Linked DNA regions of Homo sapiens: all the other regions are linked to region 3. Evidence: promoter capture Hi-C in 16 types of primary human blood cells and fetal thymus (Javierre and others, 2016). All regions are on one chromosome and are shown on one strand. The core of a region is centred on a gene start or on the middle of the fragment in contact, and the rest is flanking DNA. Distances in the headings are between cores, read along the strand shown.

Region 1 (3,124 bases), core at 372-2,871, 340 kb before region 3:
TTCAGGGCTGGCCCCCGCACTGGAACAGCACTGGGCACAGACAGGGCCCCCTAGAGACACCGCCCTGACAATCCCAGTGGGTGTCTGCTGAGACTGTCACGTGCAGGGCAGCACAGAAGCACGCCCTTCTGGAGCTCGGCACAGGTGGGGAGTGAGTTCGGGGGACGGGAGTAGCAACAGGGAGGGAGGGTCCAGCTCCTTCTGCAGGACCCTGGTCCCTCCCATCACCCACTGCCCCCCTCCAGCCCCTGTGAGGTGAAGCAAGGGGAGCCGTGGAGGAGGACGGGATGGGGAAGGGGAGCAGTGAGGGACAAACTCAGAGGGTGCCTGCCGGGGACCAGGCTGCACGCGGCAGAGATGTCAGAACCTGCCATGAGTGCTTTATGAACAAACTGGGGCCCCTCGGATCGGGGGAGACCTTGGGGGATGGCCCACCTCGGCCCGACCGCCACGGCATCCGCGCACCCGGAGGGCAGGCGGCCAGGCTGGGCGACCACTCACATATGAAAGGCTTCACCGTGCTGTGGATATGCTTGTGCTGCTTGAGGCCGGAGGACGTGGCGAAGGTCTTCCCGCAGTCGGGGCAGGCGTGGGCCCGAGCGCCCACGTGCTGCGAGCGGATGTGCCGCTGAAGGTTGCTGGGGTCCGTGAACACCTGGGGAGACGGATGCCGTTGGCGCGTGCCCTGCCTGGACACCCGCCTTGGCCTGGTTCTGGCTGGCGGACCAACCGGCTGTGGGGGGCAGGGCCCTGCCTGTCTCTCTTGCCACGTTGCAGTCTGCACCAAGCAGGCCGGGACAGGTCTCTGTGTAGCAAGGACCCGCTGCAGGGCCTTAAGTGAGCCGCAGAGCCTCCCCGGCTGCTTTCCTCAAGAACAATTCCTGAACTGAGGCTGCGTGAGACAGGGCTGCAGAAAGCGTTTTCAGCTGTGGTGCTGAGACCCTGGCGGGCTCGGGGTGGAGGCTCGGCTCAGCCCCGCCAGCCTCTTCCTTCCACACCGGCGGGAGGACAGGAGCCGCGCTCTGGAGGGGCCTGGGTTCTGGTCTCGGCCCTGATCCTTCTGACCTGGGGGACACGGTCTTCCCTGAGACTTCCTTTCCTTCCTAGTCACACGGAAGGGCCCGAGCCACCGCAGGGGCCTCCTACCCACTCTGCCGCACTCCATCTACATTTGGACCAGGGGGTGTAGGGAGCACGGGGGCGGGCGCCCGTCTGCAGCCTCCTGCTGCCCCGGGGCTGAGACGGGGCCGCCCCGCAGGTTACCTTCACGCAGTTTTCACATTCGAAGCGTTTGCCGCTGTCGTGGGACATCTGGTGGCGGATGAGGTTGGACTTCCAGTTGAAGGCCTTGGGACACTGGTCGCATTTGTACTCGCGCTCCTCCGTGTGGATGACCATGTGCTGCTCCAGGCTGCGCAGAGGACGAGGCTCACTGCGGGGCCCGACTACCTGCCCTCTGCCCGGGAGGGGACCCCAACCATACAGCTTGTTCCCAGTGCCCCTTCGGAGCCCCCACCACGCTGCCGAGGGATCAGAGCACATGCTGGTGTCTCCCTGCCCACCTCCTCTCTGCCGTGGCCGGGCTGTGAGGGGCAGAGGCGGCCTTCCCCTAGCAGATGGGGAAGCCGGCACCTGGATGGTTCCATCCCTCACCCAAGACCACCCCCAGGGCGGCTGGAGGCAGTGCCGGACCCCGGCCCACACTCCCTGGGTGCCTCTCAAGCTGGTCCTGGCCTTGCAGCTAGGCTTGGGCCTAAGAAAAAAGGGGTTCAACACTGGCATGAACCCAGGAGTGGGGCAAGTCCCCCAAACCCAAGGATGCCCCTCTGAGTGCTGGGCACACACCGAGGACGCAGGTCGGGAGTCACTCGGGGGTCTCCAGGTGACACGGAGGGGACCCGAGCACAGCTGCTCGGAGGGGCCGCTGCACTTGGATGAAGGAGTCGCTCTAATTCCCTGCTCTTGGGGGACCCCCGGCTTCCCTTGTCCCAGGGATGACCGTTAATCTTCATGAGCAAAGCAGTGATATATCACGGCTCGTTAATTACGGGGCCCAGCCATCCATTCAGATCAGAAACGCCTGGTTCCCGAGCATCAGGAGACTGTATCTTTTCCCCCGTTGTTAATTGTGATTTATGTGTTTATGTAAAGAAAACACGGACCCTCTTGAGCGGCGTTTACTGGGAAGGGCCGCAGTTGGGATTTGCCCAAACGTTTATTTTCTCAGTCATCTGTTCCGGGTGGAGGGTTTGCCGTCCCCAGGGAGCGGTGCGGGGATGGGCGGTAATCCCCAGCAATCACATAGCCGGTTAGTGGCCTGATGGGCTTTGCTCTGACTTTGCGAGGCTGTCCTGGAGGAAATCCTCAAAGGCAGGAGGAGGGGCCCAGGTTGGAAAAGTCTCCATAGCTCCTTACAGCACTGGACTGAATGTCCTGGTTTCACTCCCCACAGAGACCAGGAATCTTGTCTTTCCCGGGGGCCACAGGTCCCCAAGGCCGCCCAGGCCCCAGATGCTGGCTCCTGCCTGGTCTCAGGGCAGGGGAGGGCCACCGTGGGCCCGCTCATGTCTCTGAAGCCCCTCCTGGGACAGTCCGCTGCCACCTGGTGGGGAGCAGGGCTGGTGCCTTGGGGATAGGGGTGACCCCTTCTGGCTCTTGCCTACCATCTGAGAAGGAGCTGCTCGTGTGTCCGGAGGGTGGGGCCACCATGAATCCCTTGGTGGTGGGTGCTGCCACCCCCATCCCGGTCTGGGACCTTATTACAGAAGTAGCCTTGGGCTTAGCGGCTGCAGGTCTGGGCTCTGGCCTGAGTTTTTCTCCTTTCTAGTTTCTCCCCGCAGCGCAGCCCTGGCAGGCAGGGCCATGAGCCTAGGAGGTGGCTTTCTGGGGCCAGGACATTTGCGGTCGGAGCCAGGGGACACCTGCGGCTCTGGCCACGGGATCCTGCACCTGCTCTGCCCGCAGCGCCAGTGTCCCAGAAGGGGCACATATCCCCAGGGTGTGTCCCACCAGGGGGCCCTTTGTCTACACCTGTTGGGGGGCGAGGCGGGGGAAGGGAGGGGAGGAAGACTCAGAGGAGGGCACGGGAAGGGGAGGAAGACTCAGAGGAGGGTACGGGAAGGGG
Region 2 (3,263 bases), core at 628-3,127, 300 kb before region 3:
ACCAGCAGGTTCTCAGCGATGCATGATTTCGGTAGGTTGCCCTCACCTCCTCCCCTCTGTTGGGAATGGATAGACTGTTTTCTAGAAGGTTCCCTGACTCTTTGAGGGGATTGGGCCCTCTGGCATGTCAGGTACAGAATGTTCCCCAAACCCTTCATCTCTGTCCCCTCCTCCAGCTCTCTGCAGATGATGACTTTACTTTTACGTTAAGTTGCTTTTGTTTAGTCTTCCTCTCTAAACAACAACTACTTTTAAATGATTTTTTAAAGTACAAAGAGTTAGTTTGATTCTTCCTCAAATGCCTTCTTTTGAAGACAAGCTTGCCTTTTCGATTTCATATCCCATTTAATTAAAACAAAATATAACAGAATCATAACACTGAAAATCAGTGTACTCACTACCGGCTCCATTAATTCTTATCAGTATAAAACATACATTCAGAAGTGTAAGTGCTTTAAAATACACTCCTTCCACTCTTGCCAATATGTTCTATTTATACACGTAGTCTACAGCGGGGAAGAAGTTCTCCTTGTGAACCTAGGGAACCACAGGACCGCACGTGTTTTTGGACAATGGACGCTTGAGCCCGGCACTTTTGAGAGCTGTTGGGCCGGCAGCTGTCACATTCCAGCCACTCCCCAAAAGCCATTTGGCTGTGGGTGCGTTAGGCCTGGGATCAGCTGAAAGGTAGCATCTAGGGGTGTCCCCACCTGGCTCAACCACAGCAAAGAGCTTGAATTCAACTTTCCTCTGCCAGACAAGACCCCTCCCAAGTCACGTCTGCCATGAAACCCGCACACGCTTCCTGTCCAAATGGAGCAGAGACCTCCCCATGGCAGTTATGTTCTTGAGCCGCAAACACTAAAGATGCTTGCTCCATCAATTTTTTTTTTTTTGAGACAGAGCTTTGCTCTTGTTGCCCAGGCCAGGCTGGAGTGCAATGGTGCCATCTCGGCTCGCTGCAACCTTTGCTTCCCGGGTTCAAGAGATTCTCCTGCCTCAGCCTCCCCAGGAGCCGAAATTACAGTGGTCCAACACCACGCCCGGGTAATTTTTTGTATTTTTCGTAGAGATGACGTTTCACCATGTTGGCCAGACTGGTCTCGAACTCCTGACCTCAGGTGATCCACCGGCCTCGGCCTCCCAGAGTGATGGGATTACAGGCGTGAGCCACTGTGCCCGGCCCTTGCTCCATCTTTAACCGGTCGTCAGCATCCTGAAAACAAAGCCTAGCAAAACAAAACACGCACGTGCAGCCCCCTCACTCCCCGGGATGCTACAAAGTTCTCTTTGTGCACTACAGACCGGGTAGACTGACGTGGTGTTCACAGACACGGTTACAGCCTGATGTTATGCAATAGCATGTTAACCACACATTCTAGTAAAAAAATAAAATAAATAATAATAAACATTTGACCTAGAGTAGAGATCTTTCACGAGACGCCCTAATCATTTTTCTGCTCCGACCTCAGTTTTTTCTGGAACTGCTCCAGCAAGCCCAGGGTGGTGCGACGGCCTTTTTCTCTCTGGGAACAAAAGGTCTTTTTTAGTCCTCAGGGCTGTCAAGATTATCCAAATATTCTCAGCTTACTACTAGCCCCTTTCTGAATTGATATTTCCAATAAAAGGACACTTTGTATCTTTAAGCCACACTGGCCCCCGGAGCAGGCTACGGAGGCTGGGAGGCCCGCTGCACAGCCCTGGTCGGCACAGCCTGGGAGATGGGTGGGAAGAGAGTGTCCCGGCATACTGAGCGCGAACAGGCATGGAGGGCCCAGGGCAGGGGACACGGCCGTCCACTTGAGGGGAGAAGGCAGAACCCACAGAGAGTGCGTGCCTTCCCGTCAGGACATCAGCGCGTCCCGGAGTCCTGCTGCACTGGGTCTGATTTTGGCCAAGCCTGTCTAGTCTGCGAGCGGCCGCCAAGCGCATTAAGTCATGGTCGTGCTCAGTGGCAGGAAAGAATTCATTCCAGCCGGACCAAGCTGTGCGAAGCCTGTGTTCTCCGGCTGTCGGCACATCGGGGCGCTAGAGCCCCCCTGAGCCACAGGTCAAGGGTTATTTCTTAGCCTCACCTCTTCGCCATCTTCCCAGACCCTCCCTGGCCCCACAGGCCAGTTCTGTGCGTATGTGGCATGAACATGTATGTGTATGTGTGTGTGCGTGCGCGTATGTGTGCATGTTTGTGTGCGTGTGTGCGTGTGTGTGCATGTGTGCATGCGTGTGCGTTTGTGTGCATGTGTGCGTGTGTGTATGTGTGCATGTGTGTGCACGTGCATCCCTGCGCACATAAACACGTGCAGCTGACAGCCTTCAAAGTCGTCCCTGCAGCCCCACAAAGGGCATTTCCTTCCACCCCAACCTCCTCCAAACGGCTCTGATTAGCACAAATGATAATTCTCATTAATCACCTTTGGCTGCTGCAGAATGGAAACGAGGCCGCGGCGAGGTGACGGGAGCCACTTAGGCGGGATTTATGACCTGTGTGTGCAGTGGCAGCTTCAGGGCCTGACACCTCTGCCTGCAGCTAACATTCAGGGCCGCTGGCTGCCTAGCACAGAGCCCCCAGTATTCCCTCTCCTTGTCTGTTGGCTGACTCTGGGGGCACCACCAACCCCATGGATCACCCCATGGTCCAGAGCTCTTTCAGGTCCTGTGGTGGAATACAGTGGGGCTTTGGGGTGTGGGCCTGCCCAATATAAGGAGGAAGAGGCGGGAGGGAGCACTTGTATTGGCCAGGAGGTCCCCTCCTCACTGCCTCTCCTTCCTTCCCAAACCCAGCCACACGCGCCTTTCCTCTTCCTGACCCTCAGGGGCAGGGACAGCCCCCAGCCCAGGGGTGGGGAACCAGATCTGGCACACGTGTGACACACAGTAGGTGCTTGGTAGGGGTTTGTTGGTGCCACAGCAGGCTGAGTGTGTGGCAGAGGAGGACGGCGGCACAGGGCGCCCAGGGTCACTGCGCCCACCCAAGGCCCCCTGGGCACTGCCAAGCTCCAGGCGGGGGGCCATGCGACCCGACTCCCACTTTCCTGAACAGACCCAAAAGGAACCCACAGTGCCAGCTCCAGGTTGCTGCCCTCGCCCACTGGCCGAGTGGGTCCCTGGCTCAGAGAAACCTATTTTCTCCTGGGGACCCTGGTGCCTTCCCTTCCTTTGCATCCCCTGGGAGGAAACTTCAGGGGCCCAGCACTGGGTAAGGCTTTCCCAGGCTGCACGAGGGAATGAGGGACGGCGTACACACACAGCCCTGGCAGCGTGCA
Region 3 (3,249 bases), core at 337-2,836:
AGAGCGCGGGGCCTACGGCCGCGGGGCAGCTGTTGGGACGAGCCGGGCGGGCCCCGAGCCGAGGGAGCGGAGCTTCGGAAAACCGCCGCGAGTCCCGCGCGCACCCGGCTCACGTTTGGGGGCTCGGCCCCGGGAGCTGCGAGGCCGGCCTGGAGGGACCCGGCCCCGGAGGCGCGGACGGAACGGCGTGGGTCGGGCGGGGACCTCGAGGGGAGCGGCCCGGGCGCCTCTTCTGCGGGTGGGCGGGCGGGCGGCCTGCAGAGGAGGGGGCGGCGGGAGCAGGCGGCGCCGATTCCGCTCCGCGCGGCGCTGGCCGCTTCGCTGCAGCCGGGGCTTCGGCGGGGCTGCGGGAGCCGCGCTGGCCGGGCCGCGGCTCCGCCTGTCCTCACCTGCCCGCCCGCCTCACCGCGGATGGCGCCGGCGACCGGGGCTGCGGGGTGCGCGCGGGCTGCTCGGAGGCGCTGTGGCGGGCGAGGGCGCGGGTGGCTGGAGCACCCGGCCCGCGGCAAGGACCGGCTGGCGGCAGGCGGGGCGCGCGGAGCCCGGGGCTCGGCCGAGACGGAGCGAAAGAGAAAGTAAGACCGAGGACCGGGCAGCCTGGCCGGGGCAGCTCTGTCCCCGCCGGGCCCGGCTGTGCCAGGCAAGCGGGTACAGAGGGGTCCACGCGGGCCCGAGGGCGGCAGCGGCGGGTCGGGAGGTGGCCGGGTGGGTCCCTCCTGTCGGAGGCACTGTCGCCCCGGCGGCCCGCGCAGGCTGCCGGCGTCCCAGAGGAGCGCCCTCCACCACGCGGGGCACAGCCGGGGATAAACTTCACGACCACAGTTCCCAGCCCGGGCAAAAGTCTCCATTTTGCTCCCCAAGTGGCTGCGGCTGTCCCGCCGTCGCCACCCCTGCCCCTGCGCCCGCGGAGCCGGGTGGGCGCCGGCCCGCGCCCCCTCCTCCGCCCCTCCCCGGCTCGGGGTCTCCCTCCTCTGCGCCCGGCTGGCGGACGCCAAAGGCGGTGCTCTAGCGCCCACTATTTCAAAAGCCCGGAATATGATTTGACCAGGACTGAGAGCCACTCGGAGAGAGAGAGGGAGAGAGCGAGCGGGGAGGAAAAAGTTGCTCTCCCCTTTCGTCAACTTTTCGCTAACTTTCACTTTTCGCTCCCCTCCACCCCCGGCCCTCCCCCTCCGCCCCCCTCCCCGGCCCCCACCGCGCGCCTCGGGTTCCCGGGCCCGAGCGCCTGACACTGGTGGGGGGGGAGGGGGTTCCGCGGGGAGGGGGCCGGCGCCTTCGGGGAGCGCGCGGCCCGGGCGCCCCGAGCCTCCGCGCCGAGCCCGGTCGCCCCGGAGCGCGGGAGGCGGAGCAGCCCCCCGGGCCGCGCGGCCGAGCCGGGGGCCCGGAGCCGCAGGCGCGCCGGCCGCGCCCCGACGCGCACCCCTGGCCCGGGCGCCCCGGCCCGGCGGCCCGGGCCCCGGCGGCGCGGCGCGGCCGAGCGCGGGAGACTTACTTTTGGCTAGCTTCCTCGCCCTCGCCTTGGATCGCATGGTGTCGGCTCGCGGAATCTCTCTCCTCCTCCTTGAGTCCAGAAGCAGCCACACACTATCTTCATCTCCCCAGCATTGTCAGTTTGGACACCTTCGCACATGCGCACAGAGCACTCAATCTGACACCCCTCGCCGGGGCCAAAAAAACTTTGCAATGTATTCATCATCCTCATCGTCGCGCCGCCGCCGCCGCCGCCGCCGCCTCGGCGCGGGATTGGGGGGCTCTCCTCGGCCTTCTCGGTCTTCGTCTCACTTATCTCTCCCCCCTCTCCCCCCCCCCCTTTTCAGCGCAGCTCGGAACTGGCCCTTTAAGAAAACATTCCGTGTTCGGCGCTCCCGCCCGGGGCCCGCACCCCGGACACTTTAAAAGGACCCAGGTGGCCCCGGAGGCGAGGTGACTATCCCCCCACCCTGCCCCTGCGTCGCGGCGCGTCGCGCTGCTGCTCCCGCCCCAGCCGGGGCCGAAGATGGGGCGGCGGCTGCGGTTTTCCACACGACTTCCTTGGATCTCGGGGCACACGCGCCGATAGTTCGGACGCGAGTCCGGGCTGGTTTTGCTCCGTTTTACTGCGTTTGATTACTAATTTAAAAGCTTTGCGTTCCCCGTCGCCCCGGCCCGCTTTTCTCCTGCATTCTCCCCTCGGCCCCCGTCCCCGCCCTGCGATCGCTGGAGGGGGCGTCGGGGCTCGCGCGCCAGAACCCGGCTCCTCCGAAGCCCCCTCCGGGCCCCACCGCCCCCCTCGCGCCTCCCGGCCCCCGCCTCCTCCCCTTCGCCCCCACCCAACGGCTGCTGCTTCGGGCTTCGCGGCTCAAAAACAACAGCGGAGGCGCCGCCAGCTCCGCGCTCCGCCACTGCCCAGGCCGGCGGGCGGCACTCGGACCCGCCGCCCTCGGTCCCTCGCGAGGCCACGGAGGCCAACACGCCTCGCACGGGGGGACAGCGCGGGGGCAGCCGTCCAAACACCAGGCGTCCTCGGCTGGTCGTCCCAGGGCGCCCGCACCTCTCCGCCCGCGCTCTCCTGCCGCCGCGCCCCCAAGGTGAGTACCCGGCTGCGCGAGCGCCCGAGCTGGGCCACCTTCGGGGACCCGGGCCACTGGGGACACTCCCCTCTGGCCTCTCGGGGCCCAGGTGCGTAGCGGGCGGAAAGGCCAGCGGCGCAGGTGGAGCAGCTCGGACGGGAGCCGACCAGACGCTTCCTCTTCCCCTGTAGCCCCCAAACTCCGAGGCGCTGCGGCGGAGGGGCCGGGCTGAGCGCAGGCAGGGTGGCCCGGGCCCAGGAGCCTGACGGCCTGAGTGCGGATTTCTCATCTGAGTATCTGGGAATCGAGAATGAATTGGAAGGAAACCGAGGCGCTGCCCTGGCCAGGTTGCTGCCCCGCACCCTTCCGGAGCACCGAAGTCCTGCCCGGCAACGGGACTTGGAGCTGCCGCAGAGTCAGCCTGAGCCCGAGGCAGGGGTCGCGCCCGCGATGCGGGGTCTCTGCGCCGCCCCGCGAGGCTCCTGGCCTTGCCCTCCCTGCCCTTTGTTGTGTAATAAGACCTGTGGCGGCTCCACTGAGACCCACACGTGCAACTCCGCGCCTCCGCGTTAAAGGAGGTGAAACGCAGCAGCCCTGAGAAACCCCGAGACCCCGGTGTCCTAGCAGAGGCGCCCCGGATGGGGAGGGGCGCGGGGCCGGCGCCACCCCAGAGGAAAAGCCCAGCGGAGCCGGGTTGGGC
Region 4 (3,178 bases), core at 456-2,955, 320 kb before region 3:
CGTCCATGAGGCACTGCGAGGCGGCAGGGCAGTGGGGAGCCTCTGGGGAGGTGCTGGCTGGTTGCTGAGCCTTTTCAAGCTCCGGGGCTCACATGTTCTCAAGCCCCTGTCCCCTGCCTCTCCCCAGTGGCTGCAGAGGAGCACATGGCCGGTCCTCTTTTGTACAGGGCAGGTGTCTTGGGGCGTGTTAGGGGATGCTGGGAGAGGGACACGTGGTCAGTGATTTGAGCAGGCTTCTGAGCAGCCAGAATTGGGTCCTGGCCAGACAGTCAGAACCGGGCCTGTGGGTGCTGCACTGCCCAGCTCAGCAGGTGCCCTGGAGCGCCCCAAAGCATCAGCTAGAGCGCCAGTACACTGCATGGAACCATGAGGGATGCGGGGGTGGCGTCTGCCCCCAGACCCCATCTGAATGCACAGCAACCCACATCCAGTGAAGGCCAGGAGGAGCCCGGGATGGGCTGAAGGAGGTGTGTGACTCCCCCGCCTCCAAAGTGCCCCTAAAGTGTGGGTCTCACCCCAAGGACATAGGAGCACCCTGGAGGCCAGGCCCCAGAGTTTGCTTAAGTCCTGGCTGCCAGTAGCAGGAGACTCGGGGAAAGCCCCAGCCTGGGTCCCCATCTGAATATCGACCTGAGTTTTCAGTTCAGAGCGGCCTCTCTCCTCAGCCCAGTAGAGGAGCTCATCTCTTCTGGGAGGCTGTGGCTTCCAGAACTTTCTTTTTAGGACGTTTACACTGTCTTCTGCCCTAGTCTCCTTTTTCCTTTGAAAATGGGGGCTGAGGTCACATGTCTTGAACCTCAAAATGATGGTGATGCTTTTCTGACCGAAGTATTTTCCCTGCCGAATACCATTTGGCAAACTCGACGTTGTTTTACGGAGCTCGGATGTTCAGATATGGTTCCTTCCCTTCTGTGTCTGTGCTGTATTAGAGGTGGGGGTGTGTGTGCAATCTTGAAAGAGAGAGACAGAGAAAGAGAGAGACAGAGAAAGAGAGAGGGAGAGAGAGAGGGGAAGGGAGGAAGATTGTTCACTTGTGTGTGTTTGTGTGTGGGGATGGTGTTCGTAAGTACCAGGAAATCCTGGTGGAACTCCTGGCATGGTGGAAATCTGAGAAATGGCATTAGTATCATGTGATGTTTCCTTCTCAAAGAGAAGTTGTTAAAAGCTTTTAAAAAATTCTTGGCTTTATTAATATTTCAGGGCAGTTTTTATTTTAGCTCCGCATAGGGTCAAATAGGTTGCTTTGCAGGAACCCACGTTCCCGTGGTCAAGGCCAGGGAATGGAAATGCTTTCTGCCGAGGCCGTGCGGCCGTCACAGCCGTCACAGCGCGCGAGAGGGCATTTAAACACTAGATTGAAATCTATTATATCCCTTTCAAAAGGCATTGCTAAAAGTCATGTCCTATGAGAGTCTATGGGTTTCTGAGAGCAGTTTTTCATATTTGTAGTGTTTAAATCTTATTATTATTCAAAGGAAAATACATTCCACACAATGCTCATTTTCGTTTGATAACTGAAATTCACGGTTGAGATTTCAGGAGAAGAAGCTGCCAACTCAGCCACCTCACTCCCCGTGCCTGGGCGGCGAGTCTCCTCCAGCCTCTGGCCGGCTCCTGCTTTCCCGGGCATTCCAGCCACATGGCTTATCCAGCTCGGAGGTGCACCTTTGCGGGGACATGGGCAGGAGCGTCGGTGGCCCTGTAACACCCGACGTCACCGGCTGTGCTACCTATGAGGGGTGCTCTCAAGAGCAGAGGGCTCCTCTCCCTGTCGGAGGGGAAGGTCTCACAAGGGGGTTGAGGGGGTCGGAAGTGCCCCGAGTGGAGGAATTTCTCTCTGCTTTGGGCCATTTTGGTGTTGCATTTGCTTAAATGTGCATTTCGAGTTCCCTCTGGGTTTGTGGCTTTAATTCAGCCTATGGACCTAAAACAGAGAGAACGAATCCCTTGAGGCGGTGTTGGAGAGAGCCATCTAGCAGGTCAGGAGGTATCTGAGGAGTTTTGACATTATCTGTGGTTTGGGTAATAGCGCCAAGTATGTTTCTGACTCTAGGACGGAGCTTTGGAGGAAGTCGGCACTGTGGGATGACGGTGGGGTAAAGGGAAGGAACGGATCAGGATTCAGGATCATTCTTCCATCCTGGCAAAAAGGATTTCTGCCCCCTGGTCCTGACCATGGAAACACAGTTGGCTGCAAAGCAGTCCATTCCTTTTGGACCTCATGTGTAGCTAAAAGGAAAGCTTCCCCGAAATATTAATAATACAATGAAGATTTTTTTAAAGACAGGCTTCTCTTTGAGATTACACGTTTGTTTTTTAAAAAGCTAGACACATAAAGATACCCACTTTACCGCTTAAGTTTAGTTCAAAAGTTCTAATAAACATTTATTTCTTAAATAAAAAAAATCTGGGCCCTTCATTACTATAGTTTGCATCTCACAAAAGCACAGCCCTGGCCCAGCCCCGCGGTGCCCCTGCCCGTCAGCTTCCCAACGGACGACTAAGGACACACTCTGCAAATCTGAGCCCCAGAAGGGGACGGAAAGACCGTCCTTCTATGCGCCTCAAGCCCAATTTTCCTTCACTCCAATTTCACTTTCATCTGGAAGAAAGAAAAAAATTTTTTTAAGTTCTGCTCTTATGTTTATGATTATTCTTTTGCTTCATCTCTGTATTTTTTTTTCAATCAGAAAAAGTTATTTTAAACATTTTTGGCTCTAACTGAAGGCCACGGAAGTCCTGGTAGTAGCGTAGATTCATGTCCCCATCCAGAACGAGCTTGTCCAGCGGAGCAACTGCTCGATGGAGATTCTGCTCCACAGCCAAGGGGACGGCAAATGAGGGAGAGCCCCTGGCAGCCAGCCGGGGCCTGCGGGACCTCCCTGGAGTTTGCTCTGTGCATTTCTTAATGCAAAATTGTTTCTGTAAAGTCGAGAGCCTTGAATCACTTTCAATGGCTTGCACAGGCTACGCGGGAATGTTCCGTGACGTGGTCTTCACACACATTTTTCACAGCCATGGGATCCTTTTCTTTTTTTTCAAATGAAATCTCATGTATGACCCCAAGATATTACAGGAAAAACCAGACTACTGTGATGTAAGGGGCCGGGGACCCCGGGCACCCCGGGCACCCCGAGGAACGCACGGTGTTCAGGATGCAGGCGGAAAGTGCCGCCCG

The links. Contacts are between HindIII fragments. The CHiCAGO score rates a contact against its expected background, and 5 or more counts as called.
Region 1: a fragment that was not itself captured here is called in contact with the fragment with the promoter of PRDM16 in region 3 in 2 of 17 cell types (megakaryocytes and endothelial precursors); the score reaches 7.3 in megakaryocytes.
Region 2: a contact is called between a fragment that was not itself captured here and the fragment with the promoter of PRDM16 in region 3, in 3 of 17 cell types (megakaryocytes, M0 macrophages and M1 macrophages). The highest score is 8.6, in megakaryocytes.
Region 4: a contact is called between a fragment that was not itself captured here and the fragment with the promoter of PRDM16 in region 3, in 1 of 17 cell types (endothelial precursors). The highest score is 6.2, in endothelial precursors.

The regions. Positions count from the first base shown.
Region 1 is chr1:3,403,026-3,406,149 of GRCh38, reverse strand. It overlaps PRDM16 (PR/SET domain 16), which reads right to left. Exons shown (of 17, transcript NM_022114.4): 7 at 1,264-1,411; 8 at 502-655. Among named protein-coding and RNA genes, the nearest start is that of ARHGEF16, 50 kb to the left of the region's middle. RefSeq lists an enhancer at 2,087-2,587. The HindIII fragment of the contact is 6,765 bases long and covers 1-3,124 here.
Region 2 is chr1:3,364,908-3,368,170 of GRCh38, reverse strand. The region is part of intron 3 of PRDM16 (PR/SET domain 16); the gene reads right to left. Among named protein-coding and RNA genes, the nearest start is that of ARHGEF16, 88 kb to the left of the region's middle. The HindIII fragment of the contact is 3,111 bases long and covers 322-3,263 here.
Region 3 is chr1:3,067,540-3,070,788 of GRCh38, reverse strand. PRDM16 (PR/SET domain 16) reads right to left here and starts at 1,586. Exons shown (of 17, transcript NM_022114.4): 1 at 1,493-1,586. The coding sequence starts at 1,529. LOC124903827 (translation initiation factor IF-2) reads left to right here. Exons shown (of 5, transcript XM_047436614.1): 1 at 1-575; 2 at 1,818-2,567; 3 at 2,741-3,249. The coding sequence ends at 1,841. PRDM16-DT (PRDM16 divergent transcript) reads left to right here and starts at 3,064. Exons shown (of 6, transcript NR_015440.1): 1 at 3,064-3,249. It also overlaps the pseudogene LOC100420339. RefSeq lists an enhancer at 2,693-3,249. The HindIII fragment of the contact is 3,548 bases long and covers 1-2,123 here.
Region 4 is chr1:3,386,100-3,389,277 of GRCh38, reverse strand. The region is part of intron 4 of PRDM16 (PR/SET domain 16); the gene reads right to left. Among named protein-coding and RNA genes, the nearest start is that of ARHGEF16, 67 kb to the left of the region's middle. RefSeq lists enhancers at 1,137-1,637, 1,638-2,138. The HindIII fragment of the contact is 1,076 bases long and covers 1,168-2,243 here.